2 separate regions of the Homo sapiens genome follow, and region 1 is linked to region 2. The links are contacts of gene promoters, found by promoter capture Hi-C in human tissues and cell types (Jung and others, 2019). All regions are on one chromosome and are shown on one strand. The core of a region is centred on a gene start or on the middle of the fragment in contact, and the rest is flanking DNA. Distances in the headings are between cores, read along the strand shown.

Region 1 (5,310 bases), core at 2,811-5,310, 490 kb before region 2:
GGGAGCCAACGACCTGAAGGCCTAAGCCAGGGCTAGGACCCACAGTTTGGGAGGCAGAGAAATCAAAACCCCTCCTGGGTGAGCCCACTCAGACAGCAGCCAGAACCCACCTGTGTGAGCCCCCTTTCACCCTTACGCTGTGAACAGGGACTCTCATTCCTTCAGGATGTTTGATGAAGGAGTGGTGGCGGTGATAATCTCTGTTGAGAGCTGGACCCAAGACTTTATGTATTTATTTATTTTGAGACTGAGTCTCGCACTATCGCCCAGGCTGGAGTACAGTCGTGCAATCTCAGCTCACTGCAACCTCCGCCTCCTGGGTTCAAGTGATTCTCCTGCCTCAGCCTCCCAAGTAGATGGGATTACAGGTGGCCGCCACAACGCCTAATTTTTGTATTTTTAGTAGAGATGGGGTTTCACCATGTTGGCCAGGCTGGTCTCGAACTCCTGACAAGTGATTTGCCTGCCTCGGCTTCCCAAAGTGCTAGGATTAAAGGTGTGAGCCAACGTGCCCAGCCAACCCAAGACTTCTTTTACTTTTGCTGTATAACATTCAAGGGAGCTAAAAGGAAAATGAGATTTCACACCCACATACTCTCTTAGAATAGTGTCTACTGACTAGTTCCTCTGGAACCAGTGTGAAATGTCTGGAGAAACAGGACAGAACAAAGCAATGAGATAAAAAAAAATTTCCCACATTGACTCAGATGCAGACGGAGGAACAACGACTTAGCTTTGGATTTTGTGTCTACATCAAGAGGAGCTTCTAAAGTGCTTGGGAAAGACCCCAAGAGGGATGGCTGAGGCTCAGGGAGGGCAAACTGTTAAGGACAGTGCTACCCACCATGGGAACCACTGACTGGAGAGGCGGTCACAAGCACACATTGTCCCAGCTCATCTTCTGGTACCTGCCTGTGCTGCAGTCCCGACTCCAGCTGCCTGACCTTGAACAAAGTACAAACTGTCAGTCTCCATCCCGTTTTGAATGGGGGTATTAAGAAGACTCAGGCTGAATTGCTTGAACCCAGGAGGCAGAGACGCAGTGAGCCGAGATCACACCACTGCACTCCAGCCTGGGCAACAGAGTGAAACTCTGATTCAAGAAAAAAAAAAAAAAACTCAGGCCAGGTGCAGTGGCTCATGCCTATAATCTCAGCACTTTGGGAGGCTGAGGTGGGAGGATCTTGAGGCCAGGAGTTCGAGACCAGCCTGGGCAACTTGGCAAGATGCTATCTCTCCAAAAAAATAGCCGGGTGTGGTGGCGCATGCCTGTGGTCCCAGCTACTAGGGAGGCTGAGATGGGAGTATTGTTTGAGCCCAGGAGGTTGAAGCTTGCAGTTAGCTGTCTTCATACCACTGCACTCCAGCCTGGGTGACAGTGACCCTGTGTCAAAAAAAAAAAAAAAAAAAAAAAAAAAAAACCTGCACCAAGGTGTGGTGGCATCTTAGCACTCTGGGAGGCCGAGGTGGGAGGATTTCTTAAGGCCAGGAGTTTGACAGCAACCCGGGCAACATAGCAAGACCCTATCTCTACAAAAAATTTAAAAATTAGCCAGGTGTGATGGTGCACACCTATCGTCCCAGCTACTCAGGGGGCTGAGGTGGGAGGGTGGCTTGAGACCAAGAGTTTGGGTCTGCAGTGAGCTGTGATTGCACCACTGCACCCCAGCCTTACAAAAAAACAAAACAAAAAAAGACGTGCACCCGGAAAGTTGTGACAACACTGTGTTTTTACATCAGATGATGTCAGTGAAGAGCATTCAACTTGGTGTTGGGGGCTAGAGGAAAGCTCAAGGTGGCAGGGAAAGTGAAGGAGTGGGGCATTTGGGTGGAGCAGGGCTAAATGGAAAGAAGGGACAAAGCAATAAAAATAAGTGGTGAGCAAAGGGGAATAAACAGGCTGAGAACAGAAGTGGCAGCTCAATACTGGAGGCACAGGCACTATTACCGTGCTAACATTTGATATCAAAGGAAGACAAAATCTAAATGTAAAGTCAGGAGTGTGTAACTGTCACACACACTCCTTTTTAACACCCCTGGGGCTTGAACAAGAACGGGGAGAGGTAGCAGATACATTCATGATGTCTTACTCAGTAGAATTATTCCAGATTTTCTCCCCTTTAAAGAGACCACTATCAGCTCCCCTTTAAAGAGACCATTATCTTTCTCCCCTTTAAGAGATCATTATCAGCTTTCTTCATCCTTCTTCTTAGGCTGAGACAGGTGAGAAGGCAGCCATGAAAATAAATGTCCAAAGGACTATGATGGACAGTGCTCTGGAAAGGGACTCATCAGGTAGAAAATGAATACATCCTGGCTGGGTGTGGTGGCTCACGCCTGTAATCCCAGCACTTTGGGAGGCCGAGGCGGGCGGATCACCTAAAGTCAGGAGTTCAAGACCAGCCTAGCCAATGTGGTGAAACCCCTTCTCTTTTAAAAATACAAAAAAATTAGCCGGGTTTGGTGGCAGGAGCCTGTATAGTCCCAGCTACTCGGGAGGCTGAGCCAGGAGGATCACTCGAACCCTAGAGGTGGAGGTTGCAGTGAGCCGAGATTGTACCAGTGCACCCCAACCTAGGTGACAGAGCGAGACTATCTCAAAAAAAAAAAAAAAAAAAAAAAAAAAAAAAGAAACAGAAAAGAATCCAGGGGCTCACTCCTGTCATCTCAGTACTTTGGGAGGCCGAGGTGGGAGGACTGCTTCAGCCCAAGAGTTCAAGACCAGCCTGGGCAACATGGTGAAACGCTGTCTATATAAAAAAATACAAAATCACCTAATCGTTAAAAAAAAAAAAAAAAAAAAAAAAAGCCAGGTGTGTGGTGGTGCACGCCTATAGTCTCAGCTACTCAAGAGGCTGAGGTGGGAGGATCACTTCAGCCCCAGAGGTGGAGGCTACAGTGAGCCAGGATCATACCACTACACTCTAGCCTGGGGACAGAGTGAGACCCTATCTCAAAAGAAAAGAAAAAAAGAACATAAATACATCCAGAAGTATTATTGCTCTTCCTGGGACATCAGGGCCACCAGTGCTGCCTGTACGTCTTCTGCCTGGGATGGGGGCAGCCGACAGTCCTGAATGAGGGCCACAGCAGCTGCCTCTGTCAGGCTGCTGAAGTCCTGGGATGTTTTGACAGGGAGGTGCCCAGCCAGCTCACAGAGGGCAACATTGAAAGCTTCACCGTCCTTTATCCCAAAGCTGGACTTCCGGGCCCACAGAATTACTCGGACCCCTGTGAGGGCTGAGGAAGGTGATGTCTTTCCCGGCGGAGCTCCCCGGGTGACAAACAAGTTATGAGCAATCTCATGGTCAGTCAGATAATCAGTGGCCCGACATACCCTGCTTATCAAGGACTCCAAGTCAGGCCCTGGCCCACGAGTGTAAAAGAGGAAGCCAGGAGCTGGGAGGTCCTGGAGCAGATGCAAATGGCCTCCAGGGTCCAGGGGCTCGCTTGGCGCCTGCTCCACGGGCAGTCTGTGGGCCAGGTAATAGCCATGCAGGTGGAGGTGGTTCACCGAGGCCAAGCCTCCCAGGCTGTTGAAGCCGACACGGAAGCCCGGGTGTAAGCTCAGCAGCACAGCCTCAATCCCTGCCCTCAGTGCACCCGGCAGCAGGCGCTGGGGGAGCTGGCGGGCAGGCTCAGGCACCAGCAGCACGTGGCCCCACTCCAGGGGGCTGACGTTGATCACCACCAGGATGTCTTCTTGCAGCAGAGTCCCAGGGAGATCAGGCTCCCGGTGCAAACGGAAGAGGACTTCTCCGGGCCGGATCTTGTTGAAGTTGAACTGTACAGGGTCAAATGCCTGCCTCACACTCTTGATGGTCTGCGGGGGCCTCCTCTGCACACCACGCTCCACATTCAGCTGAGCCACGAAACCCACAGCACCAGGGAGGATTTGGGTCTGTAGCTCCCGTAGACGGTAGCGAAACAGCCCCAGCTCCACCCGCTGCTTCCAGGCAGAGCAGAGTGCAGCATCAAAGGGAGATTGTGGCAGAGCATCTGGGATGCCAGGTGCATTCCTTGGCCACTGAATCCCTTCTGCCATGAGATCCTTCTGCCCATAAACAAAGTCAGGAATGGTTTGCCTGCCCCAGTCCTCATTGTTGGGAGGCAGCAAATAGGAAGTTTCGTTTGAATCATGTGGAAGAGCCATAGAGCTGACCTGAAATAGTCATAAAAGATGAAAACACATGATGGTAACCCACCTCCAGAGATTGTCATTGTATTTATTTATTTATTTTTTTTTTTGAGATGGAGTCTCACTCTGTCACCCAGGCTGGAGTGCAGTGGCAGTGATCTTGGTTCACTGTAACCTCCGCCTCCTGGGTTCAAGCGGTTCTCCCGCCTCAGCCTCCTGGGCAGCTGGGGTTACAGGCAGGCACCACCATGCCCGGGTAATTTTTGTATTTTTAGTAGAGATGGTGTTTCACCATGTTGGCCAGGCTGGTCTTGAACTCCTGACATCGGGTGATCCCTTTGCCTTGGCCTCCCAAAGTGCTGGGATTACAGGCATGAACCAACATGCACAGCTTATTTATTTATTTTTATTTTTTTGAGACAGAGTCTCACTCTGTTGCCCAGGCTAGAGGGCAGTGGCGCGATCTTGGCTCACTGCAACCTCCACCTCCTGGGTTCAAGTGATTCTCATGCCTCAGCCTCCCAAGCAGCTGGAATTACAGGCACCCGCCACCAGGCCCGGCTAATTTTTGTATTTTTAGTAGAGGCAGGGTTTCACCACATTGGCCAGGCCGGTCTTGAACTCCTGACCTCCGGTGACCCTCCCCTCTCGGCTTCCCAAAGTGCTGGGATTACAGGCCTGAGCCACTGCACCTGGCCTATTTATTTATTTATCACTCTGTCACCCAGGCTGGAGTGCAATGGCGCTATCTTGGCTCACTGCAACCTCTACCTCCCAGGTTCAAGCGATTCTCTGGCCTCAGCCTCCCAAGTAGCTGGGATTATAGGAATGTGCCACCACAGCCAGCTAATTTTGTATTTTTGGTAGAGACAGGGTTTCACCATGTTGGTCTGGCTGGTCTTGAACTCCTGACCTCAGGTGATCCACCCACCTCGGCTTCCCAAAGTGCTGGGATTACAGGTGTGAGCCACTGCGCCCAGCCACGGCCTATTTTATTTTGAAACAGGTTCTCACTCTGTCACCCAGGCAGGAGTGCAGTGGTGCATACATGTCTCCCTGAAGCCTTGACCTCCCAGGCTCAAGGGATTCTTTCACCTCAGCATCCCAAGTATCTGGAACTACAGGCATGTGCCACCAGGCACTGCCGAGATCGCACCATTGCAGTCCAGCCT
Region 2 (5,490 bases), core at 2,098-4,597:
ATGAGTGGTTTGGTGTACACCAAGCTTGTCCAACCCACGGCCCAGGATGGCTTTGAATGTGGCCCAACACAAATAAACTTCTTAAACATTCCGTAAACTCCTTAAAACATTATGAGTTTTTTTTTTTTTTTTTGCAATTTTGTTAGTGCAGTAGCTATCATTAGTGTATTTTTTTTTTCTTTTTTTAGACAGAATCTTGCTCTGTCACCAGGCTGGAGTGCAATGGCACAATCTCAGCTCCCTGCAACCTTTACTTCCCAGGTTCAAGCGATTCTCCTGCCTCAGCCTCCCGAGAGCTGGGACTACAGGCATGCGCCACCACACCAGGTTAATTGTTTGTATTTTTAGTAGAGACAGGGTTTCATCATGTTGGCCAGGCTGGTTTCGAACTCCTGACCTCAAGTGATCCCCCTGCCTCGCCCTCCCAAAGTGCTAGGATTACTGGCTTGATCCCATGGTGCCCAGCCTCATTACTGTATTTTATATGTGATTCAAGAAAATTCTTTGTCTTTCAATGTGGCCAGGAGGCGGAGGTTGCAGTGACCCAAGATTGCGCCACAGCACTCCAGCCTGAGCGACAGAGCCAGACCCTGTCTCAAAAAAAAAAAAAAAAAAAAAAATCAGACATCTGGCACTGAAAGAAACCATTCCGCTTGAAAACAGGTAAAGATATGATGCCAGACACCCAGACACCAGGTACTTCACAGTCTGGCTGGAGAGCAGATAGCCATGCACGAAGTACCTATTAAGACCAGGGTGCAAACTCAAACTCCTGAGGGGCCAGGTGAAATTTCATCCAGGCTGCAGTGCAATGGAGCGATCTTGGCTTACCATAACTTCCGCCTCCCGGGTTCAAGCGATTATCCTGCCTCAGCCTCCCGAGTAGCTGGGATTGCCGGCGTCTGCCACCATGCCTGGCTAATTTTTGTATTTTTAGTAGAGACGGGGTTTCGCCATGTTGGCCAGGCTGGTCTCAAACTCCTGATCTCACGATCCACCCTCTTCGGCCTCCCAAAGTGCTGAGATTACAGGTGTTAGCCATTGTGCCTGGCCCTTTTCTAATATTCTTTAACAACTCTGCTTTCTTGGATGGGAATTCATGAGCTCTAGTACTTGAGGAGATTTTCATCTGTAGATGTTAGGATTTTCTTATCTACTATATTCAGCACCCATCCTGGAGCAAACTCAAAGAAAATCTGCCTTGGATCCTTCTGAGTACTGAACATTTGAAGAGTTCTTCTTTCGTGATATCCAGTAAATTAGAACTGTCCTTCCTGGCAAGCTCAAGTTGTGCTTCAGGAAATTTGGCAGGATCTGCCAGGTTCCCACGATTCTTTGCATTGGTGGAATATGGTACCAGTGCTTCAGAAGGAAGCATTCTTTTTGGAATGGGTTGTCTCCAAAAAGAATGGAACAGGTTTGGATAGAATTTCCAGACTTCTTGGATCCTGTAAGGCTGTAGTGACACCACCACCATTTTTTTCAATTGCAGCAATAGCTAGTTCTGAAGCCAACTGTACTTCAATATTAACTTTTTTTTTTTTTTTTTTTTTTTTGGACAGGGGGTCTCACTCTGTCATCAGACTGGAGTGCAGTGGCATGATCTCAGCTCACTGCAACCTCCACCTCCCGGGTTCAAGTGATTCTCCTACCTCAGCCTCCCAAGTAGCTGGGACTACAGGCACGTGCCACCATGCCTGGCTAATTTTTGCATTTTTAATAAGACGGGGTTTCACCACGGTGGCCAGGGTGGTCTCAATCTCCTGACCTCATGATCCACCCCCCTTGGCCTGCCAAAGTGCTGGGATTACAGGTGTGAGCCACCGCGCCCGGCCCAATATTAACTTTCACCTGAAAGGTGTCTGCGGCCTTTTCGACCAGCTGAACACCATAATCCTCTTTAAGTGGCTGAATGGTCACACCTCTTCCATTGACAAGCTGGGTTAAGTCAATAGGTTGAGTAGGATCAACACGACCCAAATCAGTAACATATTACAGTCTATTGATACTTAAAGGTTGATACTGGTGTCTGAAGCTAAGTCCTTCATTAAATCTGTATTTTGGGATTCCGATGTAAAATAGAGTCTGGCCATCCCCAAAGCCCAGCAGAGCCAGTTTCCTCTCTGCCTTTCTCTTTTATGGCCTCTGCCGCATTTTCTACCTCTTCTCCGACCTTTTGGTCGTCTCATGGGTTTCCTGGAGCCAGGATTCCGCTTTAAATTGGTCAGGCTCATGCGCAGCAGGGCCCAGAGCTGCCATAACCTGCGAAAAGAGTTTTATTTCTTCCTTTCTGACCTGTATGTCTTTTGTTTCCTAATTGCATAGCCTAGATCCTCCATCTGGTACAATGTTGAATAGGAGTGGTAAGAGAGACACCCTCGCTTTGTTCCTGCAATCGGGGGGTGGGGGGAAGATTTCAGTCTTTCACTACTCAGTATGAGGCTACCTGTAGGTTCTTTGTAGGAGCCTTTCATCAGGTTGATGAAATTCCTCTCTATTCTTAGTTTGCTGAGAATTTTCATCACGAAGGGTGTTGGATTTTGTCAAATGCCTTTGCTGCGTCATTTCCACTCACATTTCATTGGGAAAACCTGTTATACCTGTCCAATAGCGGCAGAACATCAGGTAAAGGCCAGTGGTGACAGCTGTGGCAACAGGCCAAGCTCCAGACCTTGCCAGGCTAGAGGTGGCCTGGGGTTGGAGCAGGCTTAACCCCCTCCCTCTGCTCAGAAGGTCCAGCATCCTGACCAGACTCGGCAGCTTATTGAATTTGCCGGGGTGCAAGCTTCCTTGCACTGTCCACATGTTCTTACCAGGGAAGGGTCTACCCAGGGCCATCCTGCCTCAAAGGAGAAGTGGTTTACTGTTTTCTCCACCTTTAGAGGGAATGAGGGTCCCTGCTCCTGGTCCTTACTCTACTCCACTGTCCAATTGGCGCATGCCCTGAGGCTCTCATTATACAAATTGGAAGCTAAGGTGCAAAAGAACTAAGAATTTGCATAAGGTCCCCAACAGGTGAAGGCAGGCCCCAAACCTAGGATCTAGATTTCGTTTTTCTGACCCCGCTTCCTTTAACCTGCAGGGCTGGCCCAACGCCCCGGGCTTCACCCAACACTGGGCGCAGGCGGGAAGGCCGAGAGGCTGGGTCGGGCGCCCAAGCGAGGGCCCAGGTGGGGCGAAACAGGCGCAGTCAAGGGGCTGGCACCTTGGCCCCCCGCCGTGGATTCAAAGGGTCAGGCTCCGCCCCCTCCAAGCCCCGAGCCCACTTTGATGTGCTGATGCGGCCTGGAAGGGGCCACTTCACACCTCGGGCTCGGCATAAAGCGGCCGCCGGCCGCCGGCCCCCAGACGCGCCGCCGCTGCCATGGCCCAGCCCCTGTGCCCGCCGCTCTCCGAGTCCTGGATGCTCTCTGCGGCCTGGGGCCCAACTCGGCGGCCGCCGCCCTCCGACAAGGACTGCGGCCGCTCCCTCGTCTCGTCCCCAGACTCATGGGGCAGCACCCCAGCCGACAGCCCCGTGGCGAGCCCCGCGCGGCCAGGCACCCTCCGGGACCCCCGCGCCCCCTCCGTAGGTAGGCGCGGCGCGCGCAGCAGCCGCCTGGGCAGCGGGCAGAGGCAGAGCGCCAGTGAGCGGGAGAAACTGCGCATGCGCACGCTGGCCCGCGCCCTGCACGAGCTGCGCCGCTTTCTACCGCCGTCCGTGGCGCCCGCGGGCCAGAGCCTGACCAAGATCGAGACGCTGCGCCTGGCTATCCGCTATATCGGCCACCTGTCGGCCGTGCTAGGCCTCAGCGAGGAGAGTCTCCAGCGCCGGTGCCGGCAGCGCGGTGACGCGGGGTCCCCTCGGGGCTGCCCGCTGTGCCCCGACGACTGCCCCGCGCAGATGCAGACACGGACGCAGGCTGAGGGGCAGGGGCAGGGGCGCGGGCTGGGCCTGGTATCCGCCGTCCGCGCCGGGGCGTCCTGGGGATCCCCGCCTGCCTGCCCCGGAGCCCGAGCTGCACCCGAGCCGCGCGACCCGCCTGCGCTGTTCGCCGAGGCGGCGTGCCCTGAAGGGCAGGCGATGGAGCCAAGCCCACCGTCCCCGGTTAGTGTCCCCTTCCCCGCGCCCCCTTCGTCCGTGCCCCCGCGCACAGCCCCACCGCCCGCCAAGGTGAGGACCAGGCACCCTGCTGCTCCCCGCCGGCAGCCTGGCCACCTGGCCACCATAGTATGCCCAGGGCTCCAAGAAGCGAAGGCAGGGAAAGGCCACGCAGAGGACTGGGTCTCCCCTCGCTAGGGGCCCCCTGAGAGTGGAGCCCACGAGCGCGGACACCCGCACAAGGCCACCAGTGCTTGAGGGCTGCGCTGTTCCGTCTCTCCCTACAGCTCCTTCCGGGCGACGTGCTGGCTCTGTTGGAGACCTGGATGCCCCTCTCGCCTCTGGAGTGGCTGCCTGAGGAGCCCAAGTGACAAGGGACAACTGACGCCGTCTCTGTGAGCACCGAGGCTTTTTGGCCTCAGCACCTTCGAAGTGGTTCCTTGGCAGACTGCCTTTCCTGGAAGAGGGCACGGGCGATCCCGACGGGGGCATTCCTGCGGGTGAGAGCCGTCCCCACCGCGGCGGCCCTTCTCAGCCCCTCCCTCCATGGAGGGACCCATAGGGCTAGACACTTTGAGGCAAGCAGGAGGCTCTGCCTAATGTGAATTTATTTATTTGTGAATAAACTGTACTGGTGTCAGTTGGCAATTTCTTCTTCCTACCCGTGGACACAGAGCTCCCTCTCTCCCTCCAAAGAAGAGCATGGGAGAGGTGGGAGGGGTTCTTGCAATCTTTAGCCCCCCGACCCCCACAGGCCCAGACCCCTTTGGCCTTACCCCCAGCCCTGGCTCAGCATCTAGTCCAGATGGGTCAGCCTGGAATGGGTGGGGAGGGACGTCCTGTGAGAAGGCAGCGGCAAGTAGAATCTGCTCATCTTTTCTTTGAACCTGGTGGGGAACTGGTTAAAACCAAAATATCTGTGTAGAAATACAACTCCATTATTGAGTATTTATTGTATGTACATCAGGTACCTATTATACTCAAGTAACCATTTTACAGAAGGATGAGGATCAGCGCTCAAGCCCAGGTAGGCCTCCAGAGTCCCAGCGCTCAGCTCTTGTGGGATTTTGCCAGCTCCATACATGTTGGGGCCTGAGGGATAACAGCTCCAAGGGGTTATTTTCTTGCATCCTGTGGTCTTATTCTCCATGCACGGGAGCATCCTGGCCTTGGAACTCCCCCACCCTCCGCCGGCATTTTCCCATCTGCCTTTTCTCTGGTTTCCCCACCTTGTGGCTTAGAGACATAAATAATGGTGTGGCGGTCCTGAGTTTATATAACCATGACCTCCTACAGGCCTAGATGGGGTGAGATGAGGGGCCCATGGGGTTGCATCGGAATCCACACAGGCAGTTGCGTGCCTGTCTGCATTGGCTGGATTCACATCAGGGAGCAAGAAACGGGAGGCT

What was found. The method cuts DNA at HindIII sites, captures the fragments that hold promoters and counts their contacts. A contact is called where the count stands out against the background at its distance.
Region 1: a contact is called between a fragment that was not itself captured here and the fragment with the promoter of MESP1 in region 2, in 1 of the 25 tissues and cell types used here (bladder).

The regions. Positions count from the first base shown.
Region 1 is chr15:90,239,752-90,245,061 of GRCh38, reverse strand. It overlaps GDPGP1 (GDP-D-glucose phosphorylase 1), which reads right to left. Exons shown (of 4, transcript NM_001013657.3): 4 at 1-4,162. The coding sequence starts at 4,153. The coding sequence ends at 2,996. It also overlaps a transcript of CIB1 not described here. Among named protein-coding and RNA genes, the nearest start is that of TTLL13, 7.1 kb to the left of the region's middle. The HindIII fragment of the contact is 7,306 bases long and covers 408-5,310 here.
Region 2 is chr15:89,749,106-89,754,595 of GRCh38, reverse strand. MESP1 (mesoderm posterior bHLH transcription factor 1) reads left to right here and starts at 3,347. Exons shown (of 2, transcript NM_018670.4): 1 at 3,347-4,087; 2 at 4,369-4,721. The coding sequence starts at 3,365. The coding sequence ends at 4,452. It also overlaps the pseudogene MRPL15P1. RefSeq lists silencers at 3,297-3,726, 3,787-4,076. The HindIII fragment of the contact is 13,666 bases long and covers 1,406-5,490 here.